Regions from separate parts of the Homo sapiens genome. Here region 1 is linked to region 2. The links are contacts of gene promoters, found by promoter capture Hi-C in blood cells and fetal thymus (Javierre and others, 2016). All regions are on one chromosome and are shown on one strand. The core of a region is centred on a gene start or on the middle of the fragment in contact, and the rest is flanking DNA. Distances in the headings are between cores, read along the strand shown. Region 1 overlaps PCDHA1 (protocadherin alpha 1). Region 2 holds the start of PCDHA5 (protocadherin alpha 5).

Region 1 (7,274 bases), core at 2,223-4,722, 120 kb after region 2:
AAAGGTTATTATATATTCATTTGGAACTTGTTTTGGAATCTGGAAATAAATATGCAATCTCGTATTCTCCTGTGCTGTAGAGAAAGATAAACACTTTATTTCTAACCCATCCCAAATTCCTTGGCTGTTCCTAGAGCCATCTGGTTACCATCTACAGATATTCTGTGTTCATAGGGGCACTCTAATGACATACCTTCAAAATATACTCTGAATTCAAACACATTATGGTTATTCTTTAGAATTGTTAAGCAAAGACTACAGCTGTTTTGTTTAAACTCAAAATAATGTTAATATAAAATAAAAACCAATTAAGAAGTCTTAATAGTGGGTTTTTAGGTTGATTTGTCTTTTTCTTTTCTTATTAGGTTAGGCTGGCCCTGTTAAACAAGTTGGAAATCCTGTCTCTCTCTCTGTCTCTCTCACATTTTTTTTCCTATTCCTCGGACACATTTACTGAGATTGGTGATACAGCTTTCTTAAATATTTGGTAGAATTCACTAGTGAAGCTCTCTGTACCTACAGTTTTCTTTGTAGGAAAATTTTAATTGAGATCAAATTTCTTTGTATTTTTATTGCTCCTATTTCATTCCTGTACCTTTAATTTTTTCAGATATATGTTAGTTTTATCTGTACTTTTGAATATTTTGGCATAAAGTTGTTTATAATGTCCTGTTGTGACTTTTTTTCACATCTGCAGGATCTGTAGTGATGTTTCCCTTTTCAATCCTGGTGTTAGTGTCACCTCTCATTTTTCTTGACTAGACTTGGAAGTAGTTTATTAATGATATTAGTCTTTCCAAGGCTAACTTTTGGTGTTTTGGGTTCGCTTTGTTGTATGTTTGCTTTCTATTTTATTAATTTTCATACTTTATTAATTTATTTCCTTCCTTATATGTTTATATTTCAGTGTGCAACAGAAGTACTCTAAACATACTTTTCATTTCTATTTCCTCACACAAAATGTTTAAAAGATTTGTACTTAATTGTGGAGATTTATCAAAATTAATAATAATCAGTGCTTCATCAAGGGCATTCTTACTGGTATTTTTCTTACTGCAAATGTCCAATCATGAATGTAATAACCACCAGTACAGTGTGGAGCCACTGCTTTGACTCCTTCTGTGGTTCTATGGTGGCCAGCTTTACCCACCAATGCTTTTGCATTATCAATGCAAGTGTAAATATAGTGAAAAATGCAAATAATGTTTTAACATTATTTTGAAAATTATATTCACCTCATAAACACCCAAAGGGTCCATAGACCACACTTCGAGAGCTACCGTTCTAATTCTATCATTTCTTCTTTTTTTTAATTAATTGTAACATTTCTGTAATGGGTCTTCAACTATTTGATTAGCCTGAGGTACAGTTCACACAGGAAAGGCAGGATAAATGTTTGATTCTTCCCCTTTGTTTAGCAGTATTCAAAACAATGAATTGATTCCTGGCCATCTTACAAAAAGGACCAAGGCCTTTTTTAGGTGTCATTATGAACTCATTGACTTAAACATATTTGATATGGCCCAATCCATGTCAATTATCTTTTTAATGATCAAATTATGCTAACTTTGGCAAGTTGGGAACTGTTCAGCTTTGCTCCTGAGTCTTTGTGAGTGTGTTTGTGTATCTTGTTTTAAACCTTTTATTTTGGAATAATTATGGATTCACATAAAGTTACAAAACTAGTATAGAGAGATCCCATGTGCTTGTCACCCACTTTTCCCCAGTGATAACACCCTGAATCCTTTTCATGTGAGTCTTAATAGTCTTTTGAATGCTTCCTTGATTTCTGGTATTACAAGATGTTCAGATTATCTTGTACATTTCCTTTCCCAGAATCAGCCATTTTTCAAAGAGCTTTCACTTATTTTTAGTGAAAGATGATACTTAGAGATATAATCTCAACAACAGGTGTGCTTATTGCTGCTGGGTCAGTTGCTGTTTCTAGGTATCTTCAGCTACTGAGCTAAGGGATGTCTATTTTTTAAAAGATAAAATACATCACATGTTTATACTAATCTAATAAAGTTCAGCACTCCGAGGTTTTTACTTAACTTCATCAATCTTACATTCCTATTTCTCCCATACGTCAAATCCCAGTTTTCATTAACGTCAACAGAATTACTCATTTGTTATCCCACGGGACTCAAACAATGGACTTAGAAAACAATTTCAGCACTACAGAAATAATATGATACTGTAGCAGTTTAAGTTTTTGTCATTCTTTTCATTTATAAGGCACATCCTTACAAATGCCCAGTAGGCATGTACAGTCAAATTATTGTGTTTTAAAGTATCTTGGAAAAGTTCCTCTCTGTGTAGTTAAGCCACCAGCTAGATACAGAGCTAGGCTTTTTTCAAGTCGCTTTCAAATTTAGGGCTTGCTTTTTAAATTTTAATTTTCTTTTATAATTATGTGAAATATTTACATGGCTCCAAAATAAACTTATAAAACAAAATATATTTAGAGAAGTCTAGTATCTATTATTCCATACAATACACATTCTTCCCCACTTTGAGTTTTTTCACTTAAAAATATAAACGAGATTATTTCATAGTAGTATAGTATTTACACATATTCCATACTGCTTAATGGTGTCTTTTGATTAGCAATTAATGAGCTCCAATTTATCAATATTATCTTTTTTTTTTTTTTTTGAGACAGATTCTCATTCTGTTGCCCAGGCTGGAGTAAAGTGGTACAATCTTGGCTCACTGCAATCTCTGCCTCCCGGGTTCAAGCGATTCTCCCACCTCAGCCTCCCGAGTAGCGGGGATTACAGGCACCCACCACCACACCCGGCTAATTTTTATACTTTTAGTAGAGACAGGGTTTCACCATGTTGGCCAGGCTGGTCTCGAACTCCTGACCTTAAGTGATCTGCCCGCCTTGGCCTCCTAAAGTGCTGGGATTAGAGGCCTAAACCACCACGCCCAGCCAAAGTTGTCTTTTTTATTTAGTATTCTTTCTATCCTTTTAAAGAAAACATATCCTGCTTCAAGTCATGAAGATATATTCCTGTGTTTTCTTCTATAACATTGCTATCCAATAGAACTTTCTGACATGCTATAAATTTTCTCTATCTGCATATATGGAATGTGTAGCTACTGAGCACTTGAAATGTGGCTAGTGAAACTGGGCTACTCAATTTTTAATGTTACTAATTTTAATTAATTTAAGCTTAAATAACCACATCTGTTTAGTGGTTGCTGTAGTTCTGGAAGCTTTCTTGTTTTAACTTGCACATTTAGATCTTAAATTACCTGAAATTGCTTTTGAATATAGTGCAATGTAGAAGTCAAGATTTATATTTTCCACTTGTAAATCCAGTTAGATTGCCTACTTTCCTCGCTGCTACTGTGCAGTGCTACCTTTGTCATAAGCAACGTGACTTTATATATTCTGTTTCTGGACTGTCTATTCTGTTTCATTGGTCAACTTGTCTATTCTTGTGCCAATACATTCTGTGTTAAATATAGTAACTTTTCATTTGTATTGATATCTAATTGTGTAAGTTCTCTCACTTTGTTATTCTGCTTCAAGATTAACTTAGCTATTTTTGGCCCTTTGCATTTCTATATAAATTGTAGATTCAGCTTCTCAGTTTCTATTTTAAAAAACCCTGCTTTGATTTTAATTGGCACTATATTGAATCTGTAGAAAATATGGGGTATATTGAAAATATCTTATTTTGATCTTTATTGAATCTATAAAAATATGAAGCTTGTTAACATTGACAATATTGAGACAGACAACCGATTAACAAGGTATATTCTTCCATTTATCTTTTTTTTTTTTTTTTGAGACGGAGTCTCGCTCTGTCGCCCAGGCTGGAGTGCAGTGGCGCAGTCTCGGCTCACTGCAAGCTCCGCCTCCCGGGTTCATGCCATTCTCCTGCCTCAGCCTCCCGAGTAGCTGGGACTACAGGCGCCCGCCACCATGCCCGGCTAATTTTTTGTATTTTTTGTAGAGACGGGGTTTCACCGTGTTAGCCAGGATGGTCTCGATCTCCTGACCTCGTGATTCACCCGCTTCGGCCTCCCAAAGTGCTGGGATTACAGGCGTGAGCCACCGCGCCCGGCTTCTTCCATTTATTTTATTATTTTATCTTAATGTTTATGTGTGTGTATGTGTATATAGGGGTATTGCACAACTTTTATTAGATAGCTGATATTTTAATGCTATTTTAAAAGTTTAATTTTATAATACAAAAATTAGCTGGACATGTTGGCACATACCCGTAATCCCAGCTACTCAGGAGGCTGAGGCAGGAGAATTGCTTGAACCTGCGAGGCAGAGGTTGCAGTGAGCTGGGATCGCGTCACTGCACTCTAGCCTGGGCAACAGAGTGATACTCCATCTAAAAAGAAAAAGAAAGGCAGGGCATGGTGGCTCACGCCTGTAATCCCAGCACTTTGGGAGGCTGAGGCAGGCGGATCACGAGGTCAGGAGATCAAGACCATCCTGGCTAACACGGTGAAACCCCGTCTCTACTAAAAATACAAAAAATTAGTCGGGCGTGGTGGCGGGCGTATGTAGTCCCAGCTACTCGGGAAGCTGAGGCAGGAGAATGGCATGAACCTGGAAGGCGGAACTTGGAGTGAGCCGAGATCGCGCCACTGCACTCCAGCCTGGGCGACAGAGTGAGACTCCGTCTCAAAAAAAAAAAAAAAAGTTTAATTTGATAATTGGCTTTTGTTGAAAGTATATAGAAATAATACTGATTTTATGTTAACTTTGTATCCAATGTTCTTGCTAAATAGTAAAATCTCATATTTTTATATTTTGGGTTTTCTACATATACTGTCATGCTATTCCCAAATAATGTTAGTTTTATTATTGTATTTTTTACTTTCTCTCTTTTTTTAAAAAAATAGAGATAGAGTCTCACTACATTGCCCAGGCTAGTCTGGAGCTCCTGGGCTCAAGCAATCCTCCCACGCCAGCCTCCCAAAGTGCTGGGATTACAGGCATAGGCCACCATGCCTGGTCTTTTAAAAACTTTCTAATCACATAGTTTTCTTGCTTTCTGTCATTGCCTATGAAATTCAGTATAAAATTGAATAGAAGTAATGTTAATGGATAATCTTGTCTTATTCCTGGTCTCAGAGAGGAAGTTTTTAAATATTTAATATGAAATACATTGTTTGATTGGGTTTATTTGCAAAAATCCTTTATCAGATTTATTAAGTTCCCTTTGTTTTTTAATTTATTATGTTTTTTAAAAATCATGAATAGGCATTGAATTTATCACATATTTTCTGTTATTGAATGGATAATATGGATTTTTATCCTTTTATTAATAGCATGCATTATATTGGTTGATTTGTTAATGATAAACCAATCTTGCATTCTTGGAATAAACTCAGGTTGCTTATGATGTATAATCCTTCTTTATATCATTAGACTTAGTTTCCTAACATTTTCTTTACAGTTTTTAAATATATGTTTATGATAGAAACGCGTTTCTACAGAAAAAAATAATTATTTTTAAAGGCATAGTTATTGGGTACTAGACTTAGTACCTGAATGATGAAATAATCGGTACCACAAACCCCTGTGACATGAGTTTGCGTTATAACAAACCTGCCCATGTACCCCTGAACTTAAAAGTTAAGAAGCAACACACACACACACAGATGCGCACACACACACACGCACAAGAAATTGGCTTTTAACTTTCCATTCTTATAATGCTCTAGTCGGAGTTTGGCATCAAGGCTATCCTGGCTTTATATAGTAAGTTAAGAAGTGTTACTTTTCTTTTACTTATTCGGAAGAGTTGTCTTAGTCCATTTGGGCTGCTATATCAAAATAGCATAAACTGGGTGGCTTAAAAACAATAGAAATTTATTTTTCACAATTCTGGAAGCTGGAAAGTTGATGATCAAGGTCCTGGCAGATTTGTGTCTGGTAATGGCCCACTCCCTGGTTCATAAAACAGAATGTCACCTTCTTGCTGTCTCTTCACCTTCTGGAAGGAGCAAGGTAGCTCTCTGGAACCTCTTTTATGAGAGCTGTGCCCTCGTGATCTAATCATCTCTACAAAAGCCCTACCTCCTAATATCATAATCTTAGGGGTTAGCATTTCAACTTATGATTGCAAAGGAGGAGGGAACACAAACATTCAGATCATAGCAAGTTTGTGTAAATCAGCATTTTTTTCTTCCATAAGCATTTGAAGAATTAAGAGTGAAATTTATAGGCCTAGAATTCTCTTCATGAGAATGTTAATTATAAATTCAATGTCTATAACATTAATAGTTATAGAATTATACAGAGCCTCTATTTCTTGTTGTATTAGTTTGGTTAATCAAAATGGAAAATTTTAACATACCTTGCTCAAAAACAGAACAAGGAGACAAAAGAAAATCAATAAGGGTACTGAAAACTTCAATAACAGGAATAACCAACTTGTATGTATGTGTGTGTTGCTGGACATTATCATTTGTGAGATACATTTATATTGTTGTGTGTAGCTGTGTATCATTCATTGTCATTATATAGTATTTCAGGGTGTGAATGGTCAATTTCTATAAATGTTCTGCATGTTCAAGAAAAAGCAGTATTCTGACATTGCTTGTTGTTGTGTTCTGTATATGTCCATTAGGTCATCTTTGCTAGTTGTGTTGTTCAAATATTCTGCATTCTTTTTTATTCTTTTTGTTTGCTTATTTTATCAGTTACTGAGAAAATTATGTTAAAGTGTTCCACGATGAATAGTGAATTGTTTCTCCTTGGATTTTGTCAATTTTTTGTGTCATATGTTTTAAGGCTATTTTATTTTATTAGATTCTTAACCAAATATAAATATGTGATATCTTTCTGCTAAATTGAAACTTTTAGCGTTATGTATTATTTACCTCTATTTCTGCTAGTGATAAACTATTATAGTTTTTGTTTGCCTGAAATGTCATTCTTGATAGATATTTTTACATGGGTGTAAAATTCAAGATTGGCATTTATTTCATTTTGGTACATTAAAGTTACCTCCTCAATATCTTCTGGGTTCCACTGTTGTCTCATTGTGCTGCTTCATCAGTAATTTATTATCTTTCTTCCAATTTTACTAATTTTGTCTTCTTGTGTGTCCAACATGCTATTAAAAGTATTCCTTGAGTTGTTAATTTTGGTTATTGTGTTTTTCATTTTAAAAATTATAATTATTACTGATCAAGTCTGCCATGATATTTTTTATAGGTTTCTGTTCCCTGCAATTTTTTTTTTCAAGACAAGTCTTGCTCCGTCGCTCAGGCGTGATCATAGCTCACTG
Region 2 (7,084 bases), core at 2,957-5,456:
TTGAGTTGGTATACCTGTGGAGGGTCTGGGGATTCCTATAACAGCATCTTGCTGATGTCACTACCTCTGTTATCTTTTTAAGCTATATATGCTTTTACAAATTATTTTATTGATTTCCTCTTTTGTTGATTATAACACACATCCTTGACTTATTACCTCAATTAAATCAATAATTTTAATAATTCCAGGCAACGCTAAGACCTTGAATCATTATACCATTTACTTGTACCCTACTTTTTGTTACTGATATGCCTTTCAATTATTTATATGTTCTAGACACACAGTACATTATTATCATTGTTTTGTTAACACCTATATATGTTTCTTTCTGGGATCATTTTCCTTCTGAAGAAATTAACATTTCCTTTAGTGTGGCCTGCTGGTAAAGAAACCTTTACGTTTTTATATATCTGGAAATGTCTTAATTTTACTATCACTTTTGAGAAACAGTTTTGGGTATTGAATGAAAGTTATTTTTGCCAGCACTTTTAAGATGACATTCCATGGTCTTCTTTTGAGATGATGGCTGTCAAGTTTATTGTTCAATTAGTGTGTCTTTTTTTCTGTCTAGCTACTTTGTATACTTACTCTGTTTTTCACTTTTAACAGCTTTACTATCATGTGCCCAGTGTTAATTTGCTTTGTTTTTAATCTCGCTTGCAGTTTTCAAAGCTTCTTATATCTGTGGGTTGATAATATTTTATCAGTTTAAGAGAAGATTTAGCAGTATGCCTTCAAATACGGCTTCTACTTCATATTTTCTCTTATATTCTTCTGTGACTATAAGTACATGTATGTTAAATCTTTTCACCATATTCCTTGTCTTTTATGTGCCATTTCTGTTTTTAAATCACTTTTTCTCTTTGTTTCATAATCCATGTTTTATTCTGACCCATCTTTTACTTTAGGAATTTTATCTTGTTATTCTAGGCCACTGTCAAAGTCATTGATTGAATTCTTAACTTGAATCGTGGCATTTTTCCATTTTAGAATTTTATTTTCCTTTTTAAAAATATATTTCTAACTTGGGTACTGGCTAATGTCAAAAGAAACTTTCCTCCCACAAAGTTTTCACTCACTTGATCTTGGATTTTAAAATCAGATATAACCTGAGAGATTATCATTTTTCTCCATTTAATAATGAATCAGGCCAGGCATGGTGGCTCATGCCTATAATCCCAACACCTGTGTGGGCCATGACAGGAGGATTGCTTGAGCCCAGGAGTTCAAGATGAGCCTGAGCAATATAGGGAGACTCCATCTTTACAAAAAATGAAAAAAATTAGCTAGATGTGGTGGTGCACACCTGTGGTCCCAGCTACTTGGGAGGCTGAAGTTGGAGGATGGCTTGAGCCTGAGGCTGCAATGAACTTTGACTGTACCACTGCACTCCAGCCTCGGTCAGAGTGAGACTCTTTGTCACCCAGTTGTATAGAATCAACTATAGGTAGAGGCATAAAAAAGATGCCTGAGATTGCATCTCTTGAATTTAGCTTCATTGTCCCTTTCTATTAAGTGAGATTATTTGACATGAACATTGATATTCACTATCTCAGGGATATGTTAGAACTATTCTCATATTTTCTATCCACAGAGGATATATAATATGGATATTTTAGCACATTCCCTTATAGGGCAGTTATACCTTCCTCTGTGACTCATTATACAGGCAGCGCTAAGATGTGTATTATATGCTCATGGTATCCTTTCTTACTATCCTTATAATAGAATAAATTAATTTTTATACAGAATTAATTTTTGAAGAATCAAATGACATATGTGCATAAATTATTTATACATTTTTATACAATTGCTTCAACATTTCCTCTTCTCTGCAATCTGGTATATCTATATAATTTCTATAGATAAGAGAAGAAAAATATAGCTTATTAAAATTTTATTCTGGGTTTTGTAAGGAATAAAGGACATTTGTACCCTTATGAAGATTAAATTTTCTTGTGTTAGTATATTTCTAAAGGCTTTTAGTGAATTAAATGGAGACACTTTAATATACTACACAGTTTTAAATCTAAATTTTTTTCTCAAGGAAGAACTTCTGTTTACACAATGATGCTTAAACATGACTGAAATATCTAAAGGAGAGGTTAACTGGATCAGTCAAGAAAATAATCTGTAACATTTGATTGAAGAAAATAGCTTAGAAGAAGATTTTTTAAAATGTTCTTTTCCTGTGGAGTCTCCCATGAAATTCAGATTGGATAATCTATAGTTACTGAGAAAGGAATATTCAAAATAAGAGTTGATCACTGTAGCACAAATGCAAGTGATAATTTAAAAAGTAAATATAATTTAACAGATATGAAAGTGAATCAAAAGTCAAGAGTCTTGTTTCCTCCTGAAATATCTATATAAGTACATGAGATATTTTTTCCAGACTGAGAGGAGCATGTGAACTGATATTGTTGATGACTTTTTCTCCATTGAGTATATCTTTTAAAATACTCAGTATTTATCATAATACTCTGCAGATTACAATGTACACATTGTTAATACTACATTGTTAATTTGCCTTTTAAATACTTAATATTTACTTTTTTCAAAGGTTATCTTTGTGTATTTTGTATAAAATTCTACTATAATTTATTCCATAGCTTTGTAGTTTTACATTATTTACTGTTATATAATAGAAAGTGGCTAACATCAGCTAATGCTGTTTTCTAAATATTTATTATCATTTTCTTATGTTTTTAACCATTGTGTATTAAAATATTTCAAAATTATCAGTATGAAAACTATTAGGCAAATAGTCTGGGAAATTGATTTGTGTTTCAACGATCCAAATATTAGTGAAAAGTCATGATAATAGAGATAGTAAAAATCTTATAAGGGAACTGGTAAATATATCTTTAAAGATTGTATCAGAAACAATTCTATGACAATATCTTGTTTCTTTACAAGTTTGAATTCCAGAAATCAAGTGAATTTCCTCTGACTTTGCATTTTCTGGTAATTTCTTTTTTCTTATCAAGCTATATTTTAAATGTAAAAGTATCCAACAATAGAATTGCTAATCTCTTGGTCCCTCTTGTCTTCACAGGTAAGGGATATTTTGTAATATTTAAGGAATTTTATGGAGTATATATACAAGCAGAATGTTAGCTATTTCTTCAATAGAAAACTTGGTGATATTTTCTTTTGCCCATATTTATTAAGTGAAGTTTACTAAATTTTCTAGGTCGTGTTCAAATCATACCATCCAGTAAACAGTTGGGAGATTAAAAAGTAATTAAACTAATATAAAGATAGCCTGGTTAATAAAATGATATTCTTTTCAACATGATTATATTTACTGGAACCTAAACATTTTGTGAAATAGTATGTCATATAGACAATATTAGGATTTTGACTTGTTATGTAAGTACAAAGGTATGTATTTTACAATTTTTAATAATTGCTTTATCAGTAATAGCAACTTGAAGAAATGCTATCTAGATGCTTCTAATTTGAAAATAGTGCAAAGACGATTTACCAAAGTCGTTCTATTATGCTTTTGATTTCTAGAAAGCTGAAATATCCCCATTACAGTTTTTGAGTCAATACAAAAAGTAGATAGGTGTTATAGATAAAGAAATAGGTTTTCATCGATTTGAAAATTAGAACTCCGAGAAGAAACTCAGGTAAGAATGCCATTAAAATAGTTTTAGTTGTTTTTGAAAATAACATCAACAAAATGTCACTATTAAACAGTGAAATTGGAATAAAAATTTGTTTTATGAGTAACACGGAGATAGCATACAAACATTCCATTGACTAATACAGAAAAAACTCAAAAGTTTTAATTAGATATGTTTAAATAGAGATGAGAAAAGTCAAAACTTTAACTCTTAAAAGTTATTTTTATCAGTTTGGAAATATATAAACTCCTCCCTATATAAAATACACCAGCACAAATTTCTCTAGTAAGGATTGGGGTTTCATGACTTTAGATGTATTTTTCTGTAATATTTTAATGACGCACTTATATTGACGCATTTTAAGATAGAGTTTAATGATATATTTTGACTAGAGATAAGTGATTTAAAGAATAAGAATCATGTCATTGAAAGTGAGAATACTTGAGAAATATTGACGAATATAAGCTAAATAAAGCAAAACAAAATAAAACACTTACCCTTTCATCCACATGATGTCGCTGGACACCGGAAGGTTTTTCTCCCTTCCCAGCCTCAAAGGAATACAGTGAGTAGATTTTCCTTAGACAGAAAGGAAAAGAACCTTCCATTTTTGGCTGTGCCAAGAAGCTCAGAAAGGCGATAATATAAAAAATATATAGTTAATTGGGAATTGAATTTACAAAATACATTGTGTGGTGATGCAATAGAAAGCTCATAATTGGAACGAGATTGAGATGGTATATTCCCGGAGAGGAAGTCTGGGATCCCGGCTCCTGCTGCTCTGGCTTCTCCTTGCCTACTGGAAGGCAGGGAGCGGCCAGCTCCACTACTCGATCCCGGAGGAAGCCAAACACGGAACCTTCGTTGGCCGCATCGCGCAGGACCTAGGGCTGGAGCTGGCGGAGCTGGTGCCGCGCCTGTTCCGGGTGGCGTCCAAGGGCCGCGGGGACCTTCTGGAGGTAAATCTGCAGAATGGCATTTTGTTTGTGAATTCTCGGATCGACCGGGAGGAGCTGTGCCGGCGGAGGGCGGAGTGCAGCATCCACCTGGAGGTGATCGTGGACAGGCCGCTGCAGGTTTTCCATGTGGAGGTGGCAGTGAAGGACATCAATGACAATCCGCCCAGGTTCTCCAGACAAGAACAAAGATTATTCATTTTAGAGTCAAGAATGCCAGATTCGCGGTTTCCGCTAGAGGGCGCGTCGGATTTGGATATTGGAGCAAATGCACAATTGAGATACAGGTTAAATCCAAACGAATATTTTGACTTAGATGTTAAAACAAATGAAGAAGAAACGAACTTTTTAGAGCTGGTTTTGAGGAAATCCTTAGATAGAGAAGAAACACAAGAACACCGTTTATTAGTGATTGCAACTGATGGAGGAAAACCCGAACTAACAGGTACAGTTCAGTTGTTGATCAATGTATTGGATGCTAATGATAACGCCCCAGAATTTGATAAATCCATTTATAATGTCAGATTGTTGGAAAATGCACCAAGTGGGACATTAGTTATTAAACTGAACGCCTCAGATGCAGATGAGGGCATCAATAAGGAAATAGTGTATTTCTTTAGTAATCTTGTTCTTGACGATGTAAAGTCCAAATTTATAATTAATTCTAATACTGGTGAAATAAAAGTTAACGGGGAACTGGATTATGAAGACTATAACTCATATGAAATTAATATTGATGCCATGGATAAAAGTACATTCCCATTATCAGGACACTGTAAAGTAGTAGTGAAACTCCTGGATGTGAATGATAATACCCCAGAGATGGCCATAACCACCCTTTTCCTGCCTGTCAAAGAGGACGCTCCACTCAGCACGGTCATTGCTCTGATCAGCGTGTCTGACCGTGACTCAGGTGCCAACGGGCAGGTGACCTGCTCCCTAATGCCCCACGTTCCCTTCAAGCTGGTGTCCACCTTCAAGAATTACTACTCGTTGGTGCTGGACAGCGCCCTGGACCGCGAGAGCGTGTCGGTCTATGAGCTGGTGGTGACCGCGCGGGACGGGGGCTCGCCTTCGCTGTGGGCCACCGCCAGCGTGTCTGTGGAAGTGGCCGACGTGAACGACAACGCTCCGGCGTTCGCGCAGCCCCAGTATACCGTGTTCGTGAAGGAGAACAACCCGCCAGGCTGCCACATCTTCACGGTGTCTGCACGGGACGCGGACGCGCAGGAGAACGCCCTGGTGTCCTACTCGCTGGTGGAGCGGCGGGTGGGCGAGCGCCCGCTGTCGAGTTACGTTTCGGTGCACGCGGAGAGCGGCAAGGTGTACGCGCTGCAGCCGCTGGACCACGAGGAAGTGGAGCTGCTGCAGTTCCAGGTGAGCGCGCGCGACGCGGGCGTGCCGCCTCTGGGCAGCAACGTGACGCTGCAGGTGTTCGTGCTGGACGAGAACGACAACGCGCCGGCGCTGCTGGTGCCTCGAGTGGGTGGCACCGGCGGCGCAGTGAGCGAGCTGGTGCCGAGGTCAGTGGGTGCGGGCCACGTGGTGGCGAAGGTGCGCGCAGTGGACCCTGATTCGGGCTACAACGCTTGGCTTTCGTATGAGCTGCAGCCAGCGCCTGGCAGTGCGCGCATCCCGTTCCGCGTGGGGCTGTACACAGGCGAGATCAGCACAACACGCTCTCTGGATGAGACCGAAGCACCGCGCCACCGCCTTCTGGTGCTGGTGAAGGACCATGGAGAGCCCCCGCTGACAGCCACAGCCACAGTGCTGGTGTCGCTGGTGGAAAGTGGCCAGGCGCCGAAGGCCTCATCGCGGGCGTCGGCGGGCGCTGTGGGTCCCGAGGCTGCCCTGGTGGATGTCAACGTGTACCTGATCATCGCCATCTGTGCGGTGTCCAGCCTGCTGGTGCTCACGCTGCTGCTGTACACCGCGCTGCGGTGCTCGGCGCAGCCCACCGAGGCCGTGTGCACACGGGGCAAGCCCACTCTGTTGTGCTCCAGCGCGGTGGGGAGCTGGTCGTACTCGCAGCAGAGGAGACAGAGGGTGTGCTCTGGGGAAGCTCCACCCAAAACAGACCTCATGGCCTTCAGTCCAAGCCTTCCTCAGGGTCCCACCTCTACAGACAACGTGAGTTTTCTAATATTAACATCCATCTTTCCCTCCCAATTTTCAAATATTAAATGTCACATTCACCCACTTTTTTTGTATTTAAAAATTATGTCTTAGTACACAAATATTGTGGTACACAATTATTGCACTAATTCATGTATTATATGCTTTTTATGAGGCTTTTCTGCTGGGGTAATAGATTCATCAGCTTTCTGTGATATTAAGTGTTTTTAAAATAATATTTTATATTAGCATTTGAATTTTGCATCTCTAAAAATGTAGGATAATAATTGTAAGACATAGTTTGGAGTCATTCTCAAAGTTTCAGTTTATGACTACATGAAAATTTATTTTATTTTATTGTTATTTTTTAGAGACCCT

What was found. The method cuts DNA at HindIII sites, captures the fragments that hold promoters and counts their contacts. A CHiCAGO score of 5 or more calls a contact.
Region 1: a fragment that was not itself captured here is called in contact with the fragment with the promoter of PCDHA5 in region 2 in 1 of 17 cell types (monocytes); the score reaches 5.0 in monocytes.

The regions. Positions count from the first base shown.
Region 1 is chr5:140,933,253-140,940,526 of GRCh38, forward strand. All of the region lies in intron 1 of PCDHA1 (protocadherin alpha 1), which reads left to right. All of the region lies in intron 1 of PCDHA2 (protocadherin alpha 2), which reads left to right. All of the region lies in intron 1 of PCDHA3 (protocadherin alpha 3), which reads left to right. The region is part of intron 1 of PCDHA4 (protocadherin alpha 4); the gene reads left to right. It also overlaps PCDHA5, PCDHA6, PCDHA7, PCDHA8, PCDHA9 and PCDHA10, and 5 more genes. Among named protein-coding and RNA genes, the nearest start is that of PCDHAC1, 11 kb to the left of the region's middle. The HindIII fragment of the contact is 499 bases long and covers 3,224-3,722 here.
Region 2 is chr5:140,817,407-140,824,490 of GRCh38, forward strand. PCDHA5 (protocadherin alpha 5) reads left to right here and starts at 4,207. Exons shown (of 4, transcript NM_018908.3): 1 at 4,207-6,721. The coding sequence starts at 4,370. The region is part of intron 1 of PCDHA1 (protocadherin alpha 1); the gene reads left to right. All of the region lies in intron 1 of PCDHA2 (protocadherin alpha 2), which reads left to right. All of the region lies in intron 1 of PCDHA3 (protocadherin alpha 3), which reads left to right. It also overlaps PCDHA4 and PCDHA@. The HindIII fragment of the contact is 13,774 bases long and covers 671-7,084 here.